Linked DNA regions of Homo sapiens: all the other regions are linked to region 1. Evidence: promoter capture Hi-C in 16 types of primary human blood cells and fetal thymus (Javierre and others, 2016). All regions are on one chromosome and are shown on one strand. Each heading gives the region's core, a stretch centred on a gene start or on the middle of the fragment in contact. The rest is flanking DNA. Distances are from core to core; before and after follow the strand shown.

What was found. The method cuts DNA at HindIII sites, captures the fragments that hold promoters and counts their contacts. A CHiCAGO score of 5 or more calls a contact.
Region 2: a fragment that was not itself captured here is called in contact with the fragment with the promoter of ARHGAP17 in region 1 in 1 of 17 cell types (neutrophils); the score reaches 5.6 in neutrophils.
Region 3: a fragment that was not itself captured here is called in contact with the fragment with the promoter of ARHGAP17 in region 1 in 1 of 17 cell types (endothelial precursors); the score reaches 5.1 in endothelial precursors.
Region 4: a fragment that was not itself captured here is called in contact with the fragment with the promoter of ARHGAP17 in region 1 in 1 of 17 cell types (monocytes); the score reaches 5.3 in monocytes.
Region 5: a contact is called between a fragment that was not itself captured here and the fragment with the promoter of ARHGAP17 in region 1, in 14 of 17 cell types (total CD8 T cells, M2 macrophages, naive B cells and 11 more). The highest score is 8.5, in total CD8 T cells.

The regions. Positions count from the first base shown.
Region 1 is chr16:25,013,654-25,017,608 of GRCh38, forward strand. ARHGAP17 (Rho GTPase activating protein 17) reads right to left here and starts at 1,716. Exons shown (of 20, transcript NM_001006634.3): 1 at 1,556-1,716. The coding sequence starts at 1,608. It also overlaps the pseudogene LOC100421171. RefSeq lists enhancers at 604-1,272, 1,273-1,941 and silencers at 1,255-1,304, 1,365-1,414, 1,475-1,524, 1,605-1,854. The HindIII fragment of the contact is 8,408 bases long and covers 1-3,955 here.
Region 2 is chr16:25,154,120-25,158,736 of GRCh38, forward strand. The region is part of intron 5 of LCMT1 (leucine carboxyl methyltransferase 1); the gene reads left to right. Among named protein-coding and RNA genes, the nearest start is that of LCMT1-AS2, 7.4 kb to the left of the region's middle. The HindIII fragment of the contact is 1,321 bases long and covers 2,180-3,500 here.
Region 3 is chr16:24,844,870-24,848,985 of GRCh38, forward strand. It overlaps SLC5A11 (solute carrier family 5 member 11), which reads left to right and starts at 1,094. Exons shown (of 17, transcript NM_001352248.3): 1 at 1,094-1,143; 2 at 1,363-1,569. The HindIII fragment of the contact is 1,433 bases long and covers 1,701-3,133 here.
Region 4 is chr16:25,177,224-25,181,527 of GRCh38, forward strand. LCMT1 (leucine carboxyl methyltransferase 1) reads left to right here. Exons shown (of 11, transcript NM_016309.3): 11 at 778-1,005. The coding sequence ends at 800. Among named protein-coding and RNA genes, the nearest start is that of LCMT1-AS2, 30 kb to the left of the region's middle. The HindIII fragment of the contact is 3,676 bases long and covers 47-3,722 here.
Region 5 is chr16:25,224,328-25,228,269 of GRCh38, forward strand. AQP8 (aquaporin 8) reads left to right here. Exons shown (of 6, transcript NM_001169.3): 4 at 35-249; 5 at 2,741-2,875. Among named protein-coding and RNA genes, the nearest start is that of AQP8, 9.4 kb to the left of the region's middle. The HindIII fragment of the contact is 230 bases long and covers 1,529-1,758 here.

The DNA of each region.
Region 1 (3,955 bases), core at 466-2,965:
CTAAGATGACCCAGGAGTCAAAGAGACCCTAAATAGCTTGGTAGATTTAAGTCTCAGAACTTTGTATAAAAAGAGTGAAAGTCCCTTACCTGTCACGAACAATGTAAAAACAAGCCAAACGACTATTTGACAAATGTATCTTGGCACTTACTAAATACTAGTTCCACAATGCACGTTGCTCAGAACACTAACAAGGGTACGAAACTCACAAGAAATTATCATGTGCTTGTAAACTGTTCCTTGAAACATCAGCCGCCATTACCACACGTCTACCTTCCTCTCAGCATTATTTCTTTAATTTTCCTGCAAATAACAGAAAAGTAGGTTTGTCTGGGCTTTAGGGGCAGCGATTAACCCTGAAAATAAGAGTTAATTCTCACCACAATAATACGGTAGGGAATCGAAAAAATTAAACAAGGAAACTAAGCAAAAAGATGGAGGAAATGAAACAGTAAAAAGCAAATTTAGAAAACTCGAGAGGAAGTAAAAGTATTTTCATACACTCAAAAAAAAGAAGTGTCCCACGTGCTTCAGCCAAACCAAACTCCCCTTAACTGTTAAAAACAGAAAATCAAAAGAAGAGCTGTGAGAAATTCATACTTTCGTATCTCTTTGCTGAATAAACACTAAATCGGTACAGTACAGCCAGCTGCCCTGAAAGACCTTGAAATATTAGCCCCAGATAATACAGCACATGACAGTCACCTCCAGAAACTCTCAAAAACCACAAATCATTTCTTGTTCTGACAACCTGATCTACCAACTCTGGTCTAGCCTGCCATTTAATAATCAATAACGTTTCTTGTTAAGCACTTCAACCGTAGCAAAGGAAGATAAAGAAGCATTTGTTTCCAAACCTAAGGTGAGACTTTTTAAATTGGCGCAAGGCGTCTCCATAATCCTTTTCCGCCAATTCCTAATTTCTAAATGTCAAGAACTGGCAGCAGCAGTCCAGTTCCTAGGAGCCCTGGTTTTGAGACAGCACCACCTCCGAATTCCCTCAAAGGGCGTTCTGAACTCACTGAGCAAATCCGGCTGGCTTTCATGTCCCTCTAGCCATTTCTTGCCGCCATGCACTTACAGGAGAAGGACTCGCAAACAGCGGGAGCACCGGGAAAGCCTGGGACTGCCGCCCCCCACAGCACAGCGCTCGGCACAGCGTTAGGGACAGAAGTCACCGTTGTTGAGCCCAGGGCAGCGATCCCAGCTGGCTCGGCCCCCGGGAAGGGAGGAGAAGGACCGGGTCTACTCCCCGAGGGCGATGCTCCCGGGGCAGGGACAATGGGCAGGGGACCCCGCGGTGTGGCGGAGGAGGCGGCGGCCCTCCCCTGCAGGTCTCGGGAGCCCGGCGGCGCTGAGAGACAGGCGGGCCGCCTGGAGCGCGGCGCTCGGGCCTCAGCGCGGCGCAGCCCCCGGGCCCGTGCCCCGCTGGTCTCGGGCAGGGGCTGCGGCCCAGCTCAGAGCCGCCGGACCGCGGAGGAGCCGTCCCGCCCCCGCGCCCTCCGCCCTCCGCCCCCAGCCCCGGTGCGACCCCCGTGCTGCCCGGCGCACTCGCCTGCCCACGGTCTGGTTAGCCAGCTGCTTCATGCGGTTGAACTGCTTCTTCATGGCGGCGGTGGCGGCGGCGGCCCGCGGGGCTCGGGCCGGGCAGGGCGGGGGACAGCCTGGCAGCTACTACATCGCTTCCCGGCCCAAACGGCGGCGCGGCGGTGGCTCCCCGGGCCGGCGGCCCCGCCCTCGCCTCGTCACTTCCAGTGGCACCGCCCGCCCGCCCTCTAGGTCTGGCCGAGCCGAGCTGAGCCCGAGTAGAGCCGAGTCGAACCGAGCCGAGGCTAACAGTGCCTTACCTGACACGGGCGAAGAGCTAGAAGGCCCCGGGCGAGAAGACCACTAGGCCTCCTCCGCCTGGCCTCCCCGACCCCAACGCTGCCCGGTCACCCTCTCGTTTATTTCAACGTATGAAAAGCTGTTTCTAGCAGGGCGCAGTGGTTCAACGTTGTAATCTCAGCACTTTGGGAGGCCGAGGGGGCAGATCACTTGAGCTCGGGAGTTCGAGAGCAGCCTGGCCAACACGGTGAAATCCTGTCTCTACTAACAATACAAATTTAGCTGGGCGTGGTGGTGGACGCCTGTAATCCCAGCTACTCAGGAGGCTGAAGCAGGAGAACGGCTTTTACCCGAAAGGCAGAGGTTGCAGTGAGCCGAGATGGCGCCACTGCACTCCAGCCTGGGCAACAGAGTGAGAGACCCTGTCTCGAAAAAAAAAAAAAAAAAAAAAATTAAAGTCAATGTGTGTTTTCCTTAACACACGTGCTCACACACTCATGTCTTCCTGGTTTGGTGGCCTTGGCTCCAGGTAAGCCCCTTCTTTGCATTGGATGGGCAGCAATGTGGCTTCTTTCATCAGCCACATCTCAAATGTGCTCCTAAATGTCATAGAAAAAGGAAAGAGCTCCCTAACTATGGGATAAAGGAGACTGATGCCAGTTTGGAATTCTTAATATCAAAGAATGAGGGACTTCAAGATCTTTTTAGTGACCTAGGAGAGACCTAGGAAGCATCAGAGCTTCAGATAGGGCAGCAAACTAAAAGTTATCGACATCAATTACAACAGAAAGAGGTAGAAATGAGCCTTCCTAAAACAAGAAAGCAAGCACTACAGGATCGGTTGCAGGACCGGCAGCCAGCCCTGGAGTCAGCACATTCAGGGAAGGCCGGAGGTTCCCATCCACACTGCATCCCCTCCATTCCATGTGGTACCCATCATGCTTCAGTGTTCCACGACGCTTACATGGGTTTTTATGACATAATTTCATCATAACAAGAAATAAACAGATAGTCCAATGAAGTTCTAAAACTTGAGTCTCCAGTTGGCCATTGGAAATGTATTGCTCAGACTTATAAAATAGGAGGAACAACTAGTTTTGATGAAAATGAAATCTACAAACTACAAACACCAAATATTAATATCATCAAGGAGCTCAAACAAAAAAGAAGTCAGGATACTGATGACCATCAGCTTGAATTATCAGTATTACAGAATGTTCATCAACAGAAATTGAGGGAAATAAGTTGTAAGCATCAAGAAAATCTAAGCAATTAGGAAGAAAAGATTGAAGAACTGGAAAATTTGTTACAGCAAGGTGGCTCAGGAATTACAGTACATGATCTCTCTAAACTTCAAGAGAAGGAAAACACTATTCATGCAAGCTCTACAAATTGAAAAAGTAGAGTCTACCAAAAAATTGAAGAATTTGAACATAGAGTAAAAGACAAATAAAAAATTATCTTCTGGGGCCAGGTGCAGTGGCTCACACCTGTAATCCTAGCACTTTGGGAGGTCAAGATGGGAAGATCACTTGAGCTCAGGAGTATGAGACTAGCCTGGACAACATACTAAAACCTCATCTCTATGAAAAATTTAAAAAAAAAAAAAAGGCCAGAAGCAGTGGCATGCACCTGTACTCCCAACTAGTTGAAAGGCTGAGGCAACAGGATCATTTGAGCCCAGGAATTTGAGGCTGCAGTGAGCTATTATCACACCATTGCACTCTTGTCTGGGTGACAGAGTGAGACCCCTAGCTGAAAAGAGGCTATTGGAAGAAACAACTCTGAGAAAACCATGAAAAGATTGTCCACTGAAGCTAACCTGGAGAGCTCTGCCTTACAGCTAGAGCAAGAGTGTGTAATTAAACTCAGCCACGAGAAAGACTCTGAAATGTCAGCACTCAAAAAGAATATTGAGGCTGGGTGCAATGCATCACACCTGTAATCCCAGCACTTTGGGAGGTCGAGGTAGGTGGATCACCTGAGGTCAGGAGTTCAAGACCAGCCTGGCCAACATGGTGAAACCCAGTCTCTACTAAAAATACAAAAATTAGTCAGGCGTGGTGGCGGGCGCCTGTAATCCCAGCTGCTGGGGAAGCTGAGACGAGACAATCGCTTGAACCTTGGA
Region 2 (4,617 bases), core at 1,590-4,089, 140 kb after region 1:
CTGCCTCAGTCTCCCAAACAGCTGGAATTACAGGCACGCGCCACCACGCCTGGCTAATTTTTTTTTGTATTTTTAGTAGAGACAGGGTTTCAGCATGTTGGTCAGGCTGGTCTCGAACTGCTAACCTCGTGATCCTCTGCCTCGGCCTCCCAAAGTGCTGGGATTACAGGCGTGAGCCACTGGGCCTGGCTGATGCCCTATTATTTAAAAAAAATTATGTAACTTTGAATGCTAGTGAGATGGAGCATCTTTCCTTCGTTTTATTGGACTTTGGGACCTCTTGTAAATTTTTTTATTTCCTTTTTCCATTAGTTTGTAGTTTCTTTCCTTTTCAGTTTATAGGAACGCTTCATAACACATGGATGTGTTCTTTTTTTTTTTTTTTTTTTGAGAGTCTTGCTCTGTCACCCAGGCTGGAGTGCAGTGGCGCGATCTCAGCTCACTGCAAGCTCCGCCTCCTGGGTTCATGCCATTCTCCTGCCTCAGCCTCCCAAGTAGCTGGGACTACAGGTGCCCGCCACCACGCCCGGCTAATTTTTTTTGTATTTTTAGTAGAGACGGGGTTTCACTGTGTTAGCCAGGATGGTCTCGATCTCCTGACCTCGTGATCCACCGGCCTCGGCCTCCCAAAGTGCGGGATTATAGGTGTGAGCCACTGCACCCGGCCAGATGTGTTCTTTGATAAAGGTCTGTTGTCAACTTTTTTTTATTGAACTTTTTTCTCATTCTTTTACTTATCTTTTAACTTTGTGTCTCATCGGTGAATTTTTTACTCTGGTTCTTTATAGTTTTTGATTGTGCTGAGAAAGGAGAATTTGAATAAAAATGAAATAAAAATGTGAATGAAAATTTGGGCGAACTGATACGTGATCTTAAAACTGACAAAAAATATTTGTTTAAAAATGACCTTGTTTTATCAAACCTACAAGGCTGTTGACAGTGAGAATCACCATTATTTCTTTATCAGTAAGAAAGAAAAAGTGCCGACACTTAAGCTGACACATCACCAACTGTTAGATGCATCCTGATTTCAGGAATGTTAAAATGTGAAAGGATGCATCTTAGAATTGATGATGTTTTTTTTTAAGCTAAAGTCTGCCTAGGGTAAAAAATCAAAAGTGTACAAATGGGCACACAATGAAAAGTCAGAAGGTGTTTTTAAAAAGGAAGGCCGGGTGTGGTGTCTCACACCTGTAATCCCAGTGCTTCACAAGGCTGAGGTGGGAGCATTGCTGAGGGCACCTAGTGAGACCCTGTCACAAAAACATAAAAAAAAAACTAGCTGGGCATGGTGGTGCACGCCTATAGTCCTAGCTACTTGGGAGGCTGAGACAGGAGGATACCTTTAGCCCAGGAGTTGTAGGCTACAGAGAGCTGTGATTGCACCACAGCACTTCATTCTGGGTGACAGAGCATGACCCTTTCTCTCAAAAGAGTGAAAAAGGGAAATTGGGTTCTGTTACCTCCTTGCTTAAAACTCCCTATCGGATAGGACCCATGTTGTTCATTAGGCCTCTGCGTGCCTCCTGATTTTACTTTCTTTTCTTTCTTTCTTTCTTTTTTTTTTTTTTTGAGACAAGGTCTCACTCTGTTGTTGCTCAGGCTGGAGGACAGTGGTGCAATTGGTCACAGCTCACTGCAGCCTTGAACTCCTGGGCTCCAGTGATCCTCCTGCCACAGTCTCCCGAGTAGCTGGGACTACAGCTGTGTGCTGCCACACACAGATGATTTTAAATTTTTTGGGGAGAGACAGGGTCTCGCTATGTTGCTCAGGTTGGTCTCAAACTCCTGGGGTCAAACAATCCTCCCGCCTCGACCTCTCAGTGTTGGGATTAAGGGCGTGAGCCCCCGCACCTGCTCCTGATTTTCCCTTTGACCACAGTAACTATGATCTAGCCACACAGATATCTTACTGTTCTCTGACTGTGCCAAGAATGTTCTTCCCCTCAGTCCTTTTCATTTCCTCTCTCCTCTTTGCTTGATGGGCTCCTTCTCATCTGCTCAGCTGCCGCTTCCTCAGAGGGGCCCTCCCTGACTACGAGGTTAAAGACAGACCCCCTTCCTGCCGCCTTATGTCACACTCTTCTCTTTCAGTTTCCTCATGGTACTGACTGCTCCTTGATATATTCTTGATTACTCATTTATTTAATGATTCACTTTCTCCCTCTTCTGCCATGTAAGCTTCCTGAGAACAGGGACTGCTTCTGTCTTGTTTACCACTGTAATCTCTGCACCAAGAGCAGTGCCTAGTGCACAGACAGTGTTGAATGAATACTCACGTGACTGCTTGAATGGATGAATGTGTTTGTGTTTTTGTAATCCGCTTCAACTCTGGTGAAATTAGGCAGAAAGAGAAAAGAACAGCAAGTGAAAGCACTTCAGAATGTGAACAGGATTTCAGTTGGGCCGTGAGGAGGAGACCCTACTACCTAGGGAACAGATGATCTCAGCCAGGGCACACTGAAGGAAGAGCTGGGAAGGCCAGTGTGGCTGGGGCTCGGGTGGCAGGAGGTGCGTGCTTCAAGATTGAGAAAGATCATAAAGCCGGCTGAGAATTTTGGACTCCATTCTAAAGGGAGTCAGAAGCCTGTTTCACATGCCCCACAATACCCTGAACTTCTCTGTAGAACTTACCACACTTGCCCTTGTTCTCTCTCTTTCCCACTGGATTTTAAGCCCCATGAGGGCAGGGACCATGTCTTCTTGTTCATCAGTTATTCCCAGGACTTGGCTCAGTGCCCCATGAGTGTCAGTTGGGTGGTCAGACAAACTAATCCTCTGTACAGTCCGGAAATCTGCCTGAGGCTGTCTCCATTTTACCTTTTTTTTTTTTTTTTTTTTAATTGAAGGATCCTAGGAAAATCTGTGAACCTAAAAGGTCACTTTGCAATGCTTATCAACAATGATAATTAGTTTGTCATAGAAGATACCATGAATGGGATTGATGGGGTTCACTACAGATCCAACACATCTCTCGAAATGCACCTGGCGGTGATGGAAGAGATTATTAGTCATATGATACACCAGCACTTGTGTGTGTGTGTGTGTGTGTATGTGTTTAACTACTGTGTTACATTGTGTAAGTCTTCAGTTTTCTCATGCCTTTTCACCTCATGACCTAATCACCTCTTAAAAGTGTTTAAGACTGGCTTGGTGGCTCACACCTATAATCCCATTACTCTGGGAGGCAGAGGCAGGAGGATCCCTTGAGCCCAAGAGTTCAAGACCAGCCTGGGCAACATAAGGAGACCCGCCCACCCCCCATCTATACAAATAATAAAAAAAATTAGCCAGGCATGGTGGTGCACGTCTGTGGTCCCAGCTACACAGGAAGCTGAGGCAGCCTGGGGGGTCGAGGCTGTAATGAGCCATGATCGTGCCACCGCACTGCAACCTGGGTGATACAATGCAACGCTGTCTCAAAAAAAACCAGCAACAACAATAAAAAAAAAACTGATTAGGACGATAAAGTATATAAACTTAATGAGGCAGATAATTAAAGCTTGTATCCATTAGCTTCTGCGCTGTAACAAACTGCTGCAAAGCATGTGGCTTAAAACAACAACCATCTATTTAGCTCACAATTCTTTGGGTTGGGTTCATTCAGGTGGAACTTCTCAGCTGGGCTCATTCCAGCACCTGCCTGGATTTAATCACTTGTGGTCATCTTCACAGAAGACCTCTGCTGTGTAGCAGGCATTGGGCTAGGCCAGGGGGTCCCCACCTTTCTTGCTTCCCAGTAATTTGTCTCAGTAATGTTTTCATAGTACCCCTGAGCCAAAAAACACACTCAGCAGTTCTTTTTAATTAGTTGGGTTTAAACAGCTGAAGTATTTATGTCCTAACAACTTATTAGTCATTTGAAAAAAAAGTACACATAAAATGAAATAAAAATACCATTTTTACTTCATTCTTAAACACCCAGAATTGCTTCCTGAGATGCGTGCCCTGTAGGGCACTTTACAGCTTCACCTTGGAATCAGATTGGACACCACCCCTGTGTTCCACATCCACATTGGCACAATACTTGCTTTTTTCTTTTTTTGAGACAGAGTCTTGCTCTGATTTGTCACCCAGGCTGGAGTGCAGTGGCACACTCTCAGCTCATTGCAACCTCCGCCTCCTGGGTTCAAGCAATTCCCATGCCTCAGCCTCTCAAGTAGCTGGCATTACAGGTGTGCACCACCACGCCTGGCTAATTTTGTATTTTTAGTAGAGATTCTGGCCAGGCTGGTCTCGAACTGGCCTTCAGCAATTCGCCTGTCTTGGCCTCCCAAAGTGCTGGGATTCCAGGCATAAGCCACTGCGCCCGGCCGGTCTGTTTCTTTAGAAAGTTCTGTAAGTATCACACAAAATGATTTCAGTTGCCTTACATTTTTCTCTCACGAAATAGAATGTAGGAAAAGAAGGGATTGTAGATCTCATTTTGGCAACCAAGTTATCTTTCCCACCAGCTCTCAGAAGCATTCCAGACAGATAAGGATTTTTCTGTTCTCATGGCCTCTTGCCAGTGCTAGATTTTATACAAATGGCTTTATTTTCCCAGAATTATAAAACTCCTTCGAAACTTGCTCTGAGCCTGTCCTCCACAAATACATTCAGTTCCCTACAAAATAA
Region 3 (4,116 bases), core at 1,167-3,666, 170 kb before region 1:
ACTCGGTGCCAGGACAGGGGCCTCAGCTGAGGGCCCCCCAGAGCCTGGCAGGCCCAGTGAAGGAGTGAGATGGGGAGGCCACGACTCCTCCCCAGTCAGCAGCTGTCCTGTGGCCATGGGGGCCTGGTGAGGCCAGATCTTCAGGTTGTTCTAGAAAAGTGAGTATTCTAGAATTATGTTTCAAGCCTCTTGGTTTGCAAATACTAGTAACTATTTTTAAAATGTTTTGGTATTTGGCCTGGCACAGTGTTTGACCCCTGTAATCCCAGCACTTTGGGAGGCCAAGGTGGGAGGATCACTTAAACCCAGGAGTTGGAGACCAGCCTGGGCAACATAGCAAGATTCTCTCTCTACCAAAAAAATGAAAAAATTAGCTGGGTGTGGTGGTGCACGCCTGTAGTCCCAGCTACTCGGGAGGCTGTGGTGGGAGGATCACTTGAGCCCAGGAGGATGAGCCTGCAGCAAGCTGTGATGCCACCACTGCACTCCAGCCTGGGTGACAGAGTGAGATCCTGTCTCAGAAATAAAAAGTAAATAAAGTTTTGGATGCTTTGAGCATCTGGCAGAAATCTTCGCTATGCCCCGCTGATGTCCTGGGCCCGATGTGGGCGCCTGGCCATGGCTCGGTCACTCCTGACGGTTTTTCAGGGCCTCAGACACCTCTTCTTCTTCTTCTTCTTCTTTTTTTGAGACTGATTTTCGCTCTTGTTGCCCAGGCTGGAGTGCAATGGTGTAATCTCGGCTCACCACAACCTCCGCCTCCCGGATTCAAGTGATTCTCCTGCCTCAGCCTCCCGAGTAGCTGGGACCACAGGCATGCACCACCATACCCGGCTAACTTTGTATTTTTAGTAGAGATGGGGTTTCTCCATGTTGGTCAGGCTGGTCTCGAACTCTCGACTTCAGGCAGACACCTGTTCTTTGCCATGCCTCTGTCTGAAGAGTATATGGAAAGGGGTTGCACAAGCAATGGTTGCTGTTCCTGTTGCTGCCACTGCGGTGAGGGCTGTGGCTGGACGTCCCTCCTGGCACTTTGCCTCTGTCCCCTCCATCCGCCGCCAGCATTTTTCCTCCCCTCCCCTTCCTCCAGCTCGTCCCAAGCCTGCCTGTCCCCAGCGTGGAGGCGGGACAGTGGAAGACTGGGTGAGTGAAGCAGGATGGTGCCTTGGGCTCCAGCGTCTCCCCAACCCCTCCATGCCATGGGTCCCCACGCAGGTGAGGACCCTGGTGGAGGACGGTGTGGGCAGAGCGTGGGACATGTCACCTTCCCCACCTGCTCAGAGTTCAAGGGTCCTGGGCTGGGCCCCGTTCTCTCTTCTGCCCTGGGGAGATCATTCACGCTTCCTTTAATCCCCGCTGCAGCTGAGGCTGGAGTTTGGAGTTTGACCCGCTTGGAGGCTCTCTCAGCAGCGGGCATATAGGAGGAAGGGTCACTGCTGTCTCCGGAAGCTCTTGGCTGCAAAGAGAGAGGATCCCGGGTATCTCCCTCCTTACAACCACCGCCACCTCCTAGTGCCTTAGAAGCCACTGACAGCCCCCAGGGCAGGTGAGCCCTGCATCTGGAATAAGGTAAGACACCCCCTGCCCCCAAACAGGTAGCCACTCTCCAAACTGGGAAGTTGGTCTGGGGACAGGTGCTGGCAGAAGGACTCCAGCTGTCACCTGTGGGGCAGGGGAAGCTCAGCCCTCTCTGCAGAGAAAGCTTGTCATACACCAGGACAATGGAGTGTGTTTGTGGGGTGGGCATGGTGGTATGAAGCCAGCAGCCGGCAGCCAGCAGCACCGTACGTGGGTCCCAGCTCTTCCACTTAACCAAGGTCAGGGACATTGAGCCAAACATTTTGCCTCACCGAGTCTCAGGTTCCTTATCTGTCAAATGGGAATATGAACCTCAGGCTGACCCACCCCACAGGTGTGTTACCCAGAGATAACGAAGGTAAATGTATCCACATAAGCATTAAAAAGCTATAGGAATGTATTTACTACAACTGCAGCTGCTGTTAACTACAAGGCAAATACAAGTCTTCACTGGTACGTGTCAGACACGTGCAGAGAACTTTACGCCTGGATCTCATCTAACTGACACAGAAACCCTGTAAGGTAGGTACAGCACCCCCTAATTCATGGACAGAGTCTAAGGGTCATTAAATAACTTGCTCAAGGTAATACAGATAGTGAGTGGCCAAGCCAAGACTCAATTCCTGTGGCCATGAGCTCAGCCACAATATCAGTGATTTTCTTTTTCTTTCCTTTCTTTCTTTTTCTCTTTCTTTCTTTTTCTTTCTTTTCCTTTCTTTTCTTTGTTCTTTCTTTCTTTCCTTCTTTCTTTTATTTCTTTCCTTATTCCTTTCTTTCCCTTTCTTTCTCCTTCCTTCTTTCCTTCCTTCCCTCCCTCCCACCTCTCTGTTTCTCTTTCTTTTCCCTTTTTTCTTTCTTTCTTTCTTTCTTCTCTCTCTTTTATTATTTATTTCTTCCTTTCTTTCCCTTTCTCCTTCCTTCTTTCCTTCTTTGCCTCCTCTCTCTCTCTGTGTGTGTTTTCTGTTCTCTCTCTCTCTCGTTTCTTTTCTGTCTTTTCTTTCACAGGGTCTCTCTGTGTTGCCCAGGCTGAAATGTAGTACTATCATAGCTCACCAGCATGCCCTGCTAACTTTTTTATTTTTATTTTTTGTACAAATGGGGTCTCCCTGTGTTGCCTTGGCTGGTCTCAATCTCCTGAACTCAAGCGATTCTCCCGCCTCAGCCTTGCAAAGTGCTGGGATTACAGGCATGAGCCACTGCACCCTACCAATCAGTGGTTTTCAAATGGTGTTCTGCTGAATTATTCTGGGCAATAGTTGACAGAAGTGTCCTAGCCCATTGGGCATCCTGCAGATAGGACTTGGAAAAATGCTGTCCCTTTTTTGGGCGGTCACAGCGTGCAAAGGATCTATAGCAAAGGCTCTAAAAATCCCACATTTATTTGTTGTACCAACATTTATTGCATGCCTGTTTTGGGGACACAATGAGAGTGACAGAGACATGGACCTTTCTTTATGGGGCTTGCTGTGCAGTGCAGACAAGGGGTAATCACACACATCAAGTGTTACACTTGATTAGACTGTGATGAGAAGTTGTGTTTGCCATGAAAGCAAAAAGCTTGGGGACCCAATTTATATTGAGGCCAAGAGGGGGCTCCTTTGGGGATATACAGCAGGCTGACATCTAAAGGATGAGTAGGAGCTTGTCCAGCAAAGAGTGCAGGGAAGAGCATCCCAGGCAGAGGGAACAGAATGGCAAAGACCCTGAGGCCAGAAATCGTGTTCCAGGAATAAAATGAATGCTAGTATGTGGTGGGGTTGGAAGCACAACAAAGCACCCCAGCAGCATGGAGATGTTTTGAGCAGGAAAATGATCTGATCTGACTCATACTTAAAGATTTCTCTGGCTTCCGTGTGAGGGGCGGATTAAAAGGAAGCAAGGCTGGGTGAGGTGGCTCATGCCTGCAACCTCAGTGCTTTGGGAGGCCAAGTTGGGAGGATTGCTTGAGGCCTGGAGTTTGAGACCCGTCTGGGCAACATAGCAAGACCCCGTCTCTACAAAAAAATTACAAAATAAGAAGTTAGCTGGAGGCCAGGCATGGTGGCTCACACCTGTAATCCCAGCACTGTGCAGGGATCATTTGAGCCCATGGGGTTGAGGCTGCAGGAGCTGTGTTTGTGTCACTGCACTTTAGCCCAGGCAACAGAGTGAAACCCTGTCTCAAAAAATAAAAAATTAGCTAGGCATGTTGGCATGTACCTGTGGTCCCACCTACTTGGGAGACGGAGGTGGGAGGATCCCTTGAGCACAGATGTTCGAGAGTTTGAGGCCACAGTGAGCTCTGATGGCACCATTGCACTGCGGCTTGGTCAAGGGAACAAGACCCTGTCTCTAAAAATTAAGTAAATTAAAACAAAAATAAAATAATAAAATAAAAAGGAAGGAAGAATGGATATCGGGGAGGTAAGACTGGAGGGTCTTTCTCTAACCTAGACAGAAGTGATGGTGGCTCAGACAAGGGTGATAGCACTAAAAATGAGGGAAAATGTGTGGATTTATTATGTTTTGGAAGTAAGAGAGAATGGAATTGGGAGTGAA
Region 4 (4,304 bases), core at 635-3,134, 160 kb after region 1:
CTCCTCTTAATTATATTAAAAAATACTTCTTAGTAGGAAACTTAAAAGCTTCTAAAAAGTATGACTAAGAAAATCCACCTGTATGCCTGTCAGTCAGAGATGACCTCTTGTGACTTTTCCCTTCCCCTCTATTTCTAAATAGTGTTTTGTTTGTTTTTATAATAAGAGTTGAATTTTTATATTTATGCAACTTTGATTTCAAGTGTTTTCAATTTAATGTTATAACATTAGCATTTCCCCCTGGCAATTAAAAATGCTCAATGAGCATAATTGTAATGGCTTTATAATATTGTATTATGTCACTATGGCTGAATTAATATTTCCATATTTTTGGAAATGTAGGTTATTTGTAATACTTTTAAGTGAACTCTAGTTCTCACAAAGGAACAATATATTGAGCATTTTAATGTCAGGAATTTACTTTGTCCCCACTGACCCGTGACTGCTTTGGGACATCAGTGCTTGTCTGTGTGTGTGGAAGATCCGTATCTGCCTTTGCTCAAAGTTCAGCACATAAAGGGTAGATTTTTGGCGTTAACTGCAGACAGTCCATAAACTGTTATAATGTTTTCTTAATCATTTTAAAACCACCCATAAACACAGTCTTACCCAACCTTTTGTTTCCTTGCGAAACCTCATTTTATGTAGCAGGAGGGCGGTGCTACAGTGGTCAGCAGTGTGGCTGGTGCCCCTGAGCCGGTCACTGGGGGTCCTCTAGGGGCCTCTGCTCCTGGCCACCAGAGTCTCCTAATGGTGTCTGTGTGTCTCTCCCCTCAGGGCTGAAGGAGATAACTTATTAATCTGTCGAAGGCTTATGCCGAGCCAGAAGCCGAAGCCACTTGCCCTCCTGGAGGAGACCTGCAAGCTCCCTGAGCGGTGGGCGGGCCTCGTCCGCAGGTCTCATCCCACACTCTTGAGAAGCCTTGGTCACTACAGTGGTCGCACATGTTCCTCTTCCTGTTCCTGTTGACATGTCGTTGTTTAAATAAATCTCACTTGCCACCAGTCGCCTGTGGTTGGACCTCTGCTGGCTGCCGCTGCTCGTTCCGTGCCCCATGGCTTGGGCGGGCCAGGGTTCACCTCTGTGTTAGCTAAAGCCAAGGACCCCAAGTCTGCTTTGACCTTGGCTTACTCCCTGTGAGTCACACCCGGCCCATGACCTTGAGTCCATTTTAGGATCTACTCCCTCACATGCTGTTTGTTGCAGCACATGACATTGTGCCTCACTCCCTGACCCTTGTCCTCCACCAGATGTGAGGCTAGTGCTCTTCTCGGGCTCCTGTCTCCGCCCTGGCCACACTGGCCTGCTCAGTTGCCTCCTTCATCTTGGTCATGGTGGCAGGCTGAAGAATGGCCCCTAAAGTGTCCATGTCCTGATCCCCAGAACCTGTGAGTGTGTGTTACCTTCTGTGGCAAAGGGGCTTTGCAAATGGGATTAGGGGTTTGAGATGAAGAGGTGGTCCTGGGTTATCCAGGTGGGCCTGATAGGATCACGGGGTCCTCATTAGAGGGACAGACGAGGCGTCAGAGTCAGAGGGGCCCAGACAAGAAGCAGGGGCAACCAGGGGATGCTACCTAGGGCAATAGCAGCAGACCCTCCCTTGGCCTCCAGCTGGAACTGCCTGCCAACACCTTGATGTTAGCCCAGAGAAATCGATTTCAGATTTCTCACCTCCAGAGCCGTAAGAGAATACATCTGTGGTGGTGGTTTTTTTTTTTTTTTTTTCTTTTTTTTAGATGGAGTCTTGCTCTGTTGCCCAGGCTTGGAGTGCAGTGGCGCGATCTCGGCTCACTGCACCCTCTGCCTCCCGGGTTCAAGTGATTCTTCCGCCTCAGCCTCCCAAGTAGCTGGGATTACAGGTGCATACCATCATGCCTGTCTAATTTTTGTATTTTTAGTGGAGATAGAGTTTCACCATGTTGGCCAGGCTGGTCACGAACTCCTGACCTCAAGTGATCCGCCCGTCTTGGCCTCCCAAAGTGCTGGGATTACAGGCATGAGCCTCTGTGCCCAGACTGATCTGTGGTGTTTTGAGCCACCAAGTTGGGGGCTTAAACTTACAGCCACAACTAGAAGTCAATGCAGTTATGAGACAGGTTCATAGGGCCCCTGAGTGATGACCTCATATTTCAGAAACATAAGGCTTGTCCCATACCTGTCTGCTGAACTCCCTGAGTGATGGGTAGACCTTGTCTACAGGGACTTCTTAAGTTATGTGACTGGCGCTGCGAGCCTGAACCTGCATGTGCAGGGTGGCACTGCAGAAGTCCCCAGCGCTCTCCTCTGCTGGAGAGGTAACAGCCTCTCTTCTACCATTCAGAATCCTTAAATCAGTGTCCCCTAGAGTGTGGGCCCTGCACCTCTAGTGGCATGCCAGTTGATGGGATGTGTTCCTATCAATAAATACCTGTGATAAAATGTATAAATTAGGTGCAGTAAGACTAGCAACAATTTAAAAAAGAACAACTATAGCAATATGTTAAGGTTATGTGAATGTGGTCTTTGAAGATATCTTAACTGGCCGAGTGCAGTGGTGCACGCCTGTAATCCCAGCACTTGGGGAGGCCAAGACAGGTGGATCCTGAAGTCAGGAGTTCGAGACCAGCCTGGCCAACATGGTGAAACCCCCCCCCCACCGCCCCGCCGCCTGTAATTCCAGCTCTTTGGGGGGCTGAGATGGGCAGATCACAAGGTCAGGAGTTCAAGACCAGCCTGGCCAACATGGTGAAACCCTGTCTCTACTAAAAATACAAAAAAAAAAAAAAAAAAATCCGGGCTTGGTGGCAGGCATCTGTAAGGCAGGAGAATTGCTTGAACCCAGGAGGCAGAGGTTGCAGTGAACCGAGATTGCGCCACTGCACTCCAGCCTGGATGACAGAGCAAGACTCCATCTTGGAAAAAAAGAAAATATCTTAGCTATACTCACTTATTTTTGGACCTCAACTGACCTCAGGTAACGGAAACCTTGGAAAACAAAACCACAGGAAAGGGGTAACTCTGGTATATGTATAGCATTAGCAGAAACAATGTTTACTTTTTTTATTGAGACGGAGTCTTGCTCTGTCACCTAGCCTGGAGTGCAGTGGCGCGATCTCAGCTCACTGCAAGCTCCACCTCCCGGATTCACGCCATTCTCCTGCCCCAGCTTCCCAAGTAGCTGGGACTACAGGAGCCCGCCACCATGCCCAGCTAATTTTTTTTGTGTTTTTAGTAGAGATGGAGTTTCACCACGTTAGGCAGGATGGTCTCTATCTCCTGACCTCGTGATCCACCTGCCTCGGCCTCCCAAAGTGCTGGGATTACAGGCGTGAGCCGCCGTGCCTGGCCCCACAATGTTTACTTTTTGTTGTTGTTGTTTTCAGAAAGGGTCTTGCCCCATCTCCCAGGCTGGAGTGCAGTAGTGCAGTCATAGCTCTCTGCAGCCTCAACCTCCTTGGGCTCAAGTGATCCTCCTTCCTCAGCCTCCTGAGTAACTGAACCACAGGCACACACCAGCAAGCCTGGCTATTTTTAACTTTTTTTGTGGAGACAGGGTCTCCCTATGTTGCCAGGGGTGGTCTTGAACTCGGGTTCAAGTGATCCTCCCATCCGTCCTATTCCAAATTTGATATTGAAATTAGGCCAGTTAATAACCCTACAATGGCCTCTACATGCTCAAGTGAAAGGAAGAGTCACAAAGAGTCACATGCCTTTCACTTTAAATCAAAGCTGGAAATGATTAAGCTTGGTGAGGAAGGCACGTCAAAAGCTGAAATAGGGTCGGCTGTGGTGGCTCATGCCTGTAATCCCAGCACTTTGGGAGGCCGAGGTGGGCGGATCACCTGAGGTCAGGAGTTTGAGACCAGCCTGGCCAACATAGTGAAACCTCATCTCTACTAAAAGTACAAAAATTAGCCTGGTGTGGTGGCAGGCGCCTGTAGTCCCAGCTACTTGGGAGTTTGAGGCAGGAGAATCGCTTGAACCTGGGAGGCAGAGGTTGCAGTGAGCGAAGATGGCACCACTGCACTCCAGCCTGGGTGACAGAGTGAGACTCCATCTGAAAAAAAAAAAAAAAAAAAAAAAAACTGAAATAGGCCGAAAGCTAGACCTCTTGTGCCAAACAGCCAAGTTGTGAATGCAAAGGAAAAGTTCTTGGAGGAAATGAAAAAGTGCTACTCCAGTGAACACATGAATGATAAGAAAGCGAAACTGTATTATTACCGATATGGAGAAAGTTTGAGCGGTCTGTATAGAAGATCAAACCAGCCACAACCTTCCCTTAAGCCAAAGCCTAATCGAGAGCAGGGCCCTAACTCTCTTCAAT
Region 5 (3,942 bases), core at 394-2,893, 210 kb after region 1:
CCCCACTGTGAGGCTCAGCAGCTTCTCTGTGCAGGCGGTGAGTCCTGAGGAGAGGTTCTGGAATGCATCTGGGGCGGCCTTTGTGACAGTCCAGGAGCAGGGGCAGGTGGCAGGGGCGTTGGTGGCAGAGATCATCCTGACGACGCTGCTGGCCCTGGCTGTATGCATGGGTGCCATCAATGAGAAGACAAAGGGCCCTCTGGCCCCGTTCTCCATCGGCTTTGCCGTCACCGTGGATATCCTGGCTGGGTGAGTGTCCCTTGGCAGTGGGGTGACCATGCCCAGATCTGTGCTGTTCAGCTCTGGGGGATTTCAGGCCTGAGGGTCACAGATTCAGTTGCTATTAGGGGCCAGGAAGGTGCTGCAAATGGGGAGGGGGGCTGGCATCAGGCAGACAACAGGGAGTGGTGGGGACTGCAGTGTCAGAGGTGCTGCAGTCAGTTCAGCTCTTGTCAATTATTGCTGGGTACATGGGTCTGGGCTGATGCTTTCATTCAAAGGAAGTCAGAAATTTAAATCTGTATGTGATGTTTTCCAATGTTGGTAGCGTAAATACAACATTTCTGTGAACTGTGTTCATTCGGTCAGCGGGCAGCCGGGTTTTAGCCTCAGGCTTACAAAGAGCATGTGTAGCTGTTGTCTCATTTATTTTTAGACTCCCAGCAGGCTTTGGAAGGGATTAAGTAGACAAGATTGGGGATGATGTCTCCCGTTTTATAGATAAGGAAACTGAGGCTTAGAGAGGACAGAAGTGACTTATTTAAGGTCAGTGGGCAGTGGCAAATTAAGTGATAGATTTGGGACAAGAGGCTGAGTGAACCCTTTTAATTTTTGTTGTAGAGATAGGGGTCACGCTCTGTTGCCCAGGCTGGTCTTGAACTCCTGGCTTCAAGCCATCCTCCTGCGTTGGCCTCTCAAAAGTACTGGAATTACAGGCATGAGCCACAGTGCCCAGCCCAGGGAGCCCCTCCCTAATGTCTGACTCTTTCCTTTCTTTTGGACACAGAACCAAGTCTAACCTTTCTCCTGGGTCAGCTCTCCCTCAACTTTGGGAGGTGGAGCCTGGGGCAGGCTGGGGAATGTGTGTGTAAAGCTGTGGCCATGCTTTGCTGCCCCCTAGTGGTCTTTGATTCACTTACAAGCCCTTTTTTTTTTTTTTAGCTCCGCTTCCCGGGTTCACGCCATTGTCCTGCCTCAGCCTCACGAGTATCTGGGACTACAGGCGTCCGCCACCACGCCCGGCTAATTTTTTTTTGTATTTTTGGTAGAGACGGGGTTTCACCGTATTAGGCAGGATGGTCTCGATTTCCTGATCTCATGATCCGCCCGCCTTGGCCTCCCAAAGTGCTGGGATTACAGGCTGAGCCACCGCGCCCCGCCTACTTACAAGCTTTTTGACTTCGAAGCTGGACACAGGGTGGGGATGAGGTCTACAGGCCCCCAGCTGGAGAGAATGGGGTAAAGACAGAGCCCCAGAACGAGAGGAGTGCACCTGGGGAAGAGTCTCCCTGTAGGATTCTGGGTCTTAAGCTTGTGGTGCAACAAGGGCCTCATCTGGACCAGCTAGATTAGTTAATGCTTTTTGTACATTAATTATATTCGAGGTGTGGGCTCCATTTGCATTTTCTCATTCACTCCTGATGACAACCTATGGGATAGTCACTTTCACCTCACCTGAACACAGAGAGGTTCATGGAGGTTCCCACACCTAGAACTATCTGGGCTGGGGTTTTTCTTTCTTTATATGTATATTTTTAAAGCTTTGTGGGTGAACCTAGTAGGTGTATATATTTCTGGGTTACATGAGATGTTTTGGTACAGGCATGCAATGCATAATTATCACATCAAGGTGAATGGGGTATTCATCCCCTCAAGCATTTATTTTTTGTGTCACAAACAATCCACTTATACTCTTCGTTATTTTATTTTATTTTTAGTTTTAGTTTTTGAGACAGAGTCTTGCTCTGTCACCCAGGCTGGAGTGCAGTGGCATGATCATGGCTCACTGCAACTTCCAACCCCCAGGTTCAAGCAATTCTCCTGGCTTAGCCTCCCCAGTAGCTGGGACTACAGGCGTGTGCCACTATTCCCAGCTAACTTTGTATTTTTAATACAGACAGGGTTTCACCATGTTGGCCAGGCTGGTCTCTAACTCCTGACCTCAAGTGATCTGCCTGCCTTGGCCTCCTAAACTGCTGGGATTTCAGGCATGAGCCTCTGTGTCTGGCTGAGGTTACATGAGATGTTTTGATACAGGTATGCAATGTGTAATAATCACGTCAAAGTAAACGGGGTATTCATCCCCTCAAGCATTTATTCTTTGGGTCACGAACAATCCTATGATACACTTTTTGTTATTTTATAATGTGTGGGCTGGGTTTTGAATCTAGGTCAGCTTGACTCCAAAAGGATTGAAACTGATTGACTTTCCTTTGTAGACTTTGGAGCAAATGTAGCTCCAGCTTCTCTTCCTGCCATCACCCAGTAGGCATTTTTGCTGGGCATTCTAGAGGAGTGTGTGGGGAGTGCTGGACTGCACGCCCAGCGGGGAGCCATGCCTTCTGCTTCCTGGTGCTAATAGCCCCTCTGCCTTCTTTAGGATCTACCCAGGAGCTCATGATGTAGGAGTTTAGAGAGGGTTTCTGGGTGGTGTGTGACTAGGCCTAGTTGGGGACATGAGTGTGAGGTGAGGTGGGGTTTGGCTGGGATCCTGGTGACCTTGGTGCCTGGGTGTTTGCAGGGGCCCTGTGTCTGGAGGCTGCATGAATCCCGCCCGTGCTTTTGGACCTGCGGTGGTGGCCAACCACTGGAACTTCCACTGGATCTACTGGCTGGGCCCACTCCTGGCTGGCCTGCTTGTTGGACTGCTCATTAGGTAGGAGTGTGACACAGGGTCACCGGCCCATTGGATGGGCACTTGGCAACATCTCCCAGAGAGTCCGGGACTAGAGGGCTAGGCTCTCACTTGGGTTTGGAAGAGAAAAGAGGGAGCCTCTTTAGAGGCAAAGAAAATGGCTCCATCTAGGAGCTTTGGTTGCAAGTGACAGAGATCTATTTCAAAATAGCTTATGTCATAAAGAGGAATTCATTGGCTCACATCATCAAAAACTTCACAGGTAGCAGTGGTTTCAGGTGGCGCTCAAACAATGTCTTTAGGACTTGGTCTTTCTCCTTTTCTTTTTTTGACAGTTTCCCTCTGTTGCCCAGGCTGGAGTGCAGTGGTGTGATTCTGGCTTATTGCAACCTCCGCCCCCGGGTTCAAGAGATTCTCCTGCCTCAGCCTGCCAAGCAGCTGGGACTACAGGCGCCGCCACCACGCCCAGCTAATTTTTATATTTTTAGTAGAGTCGGGTTTTCACCGTGTTGACCAGGCTGGTCTCGAACTCCTGACCTCATGTGATCCACCTGCCTGGGCCTCCCAAAGTGCTAGGATTATAGGCATGAGCCACCGCGCCCAGCCAGTTTTTGTGATTTTTTTGGTAGAGATGGGGCTTCACCATGTTGGCCAGGCTGGTCTCCAACTCCTGACCTCAAGTGATCTGCCTCCCAAAGCGCTGGGTTACAGGCGTGAGCCACTGCACCCGGCTTCATTTAATTCTGGGCTTTCAGAGTGGCAGCAATGAGCATCTTCAGGAAAAGGGTTAGAAACCAAGCAGGACCCGGGCATGTGGTTCACGCCTGTAATCCCAGCAGTTTGGGAGGCCAAGGTGGGTGGATCACTTGAAGTCAGGAGTTGGAGACCAGCCTGGCCAACATGGTTAAAACCCTGTCTCTACTAAAAATACAAAAATCAGCCAGGTGTGGTGGTGCTTGTCTGTAGTCCCAGCTACTCGGGAGGCTGAAGTATGAGAATTGCTTGAACCCAGGAGGTGGAAGCTGCAGTGAGCTGAGATCATGCTACTGTACTCCAGCCTGGGTGAGTGAGACTCTGTCTCAATTAAA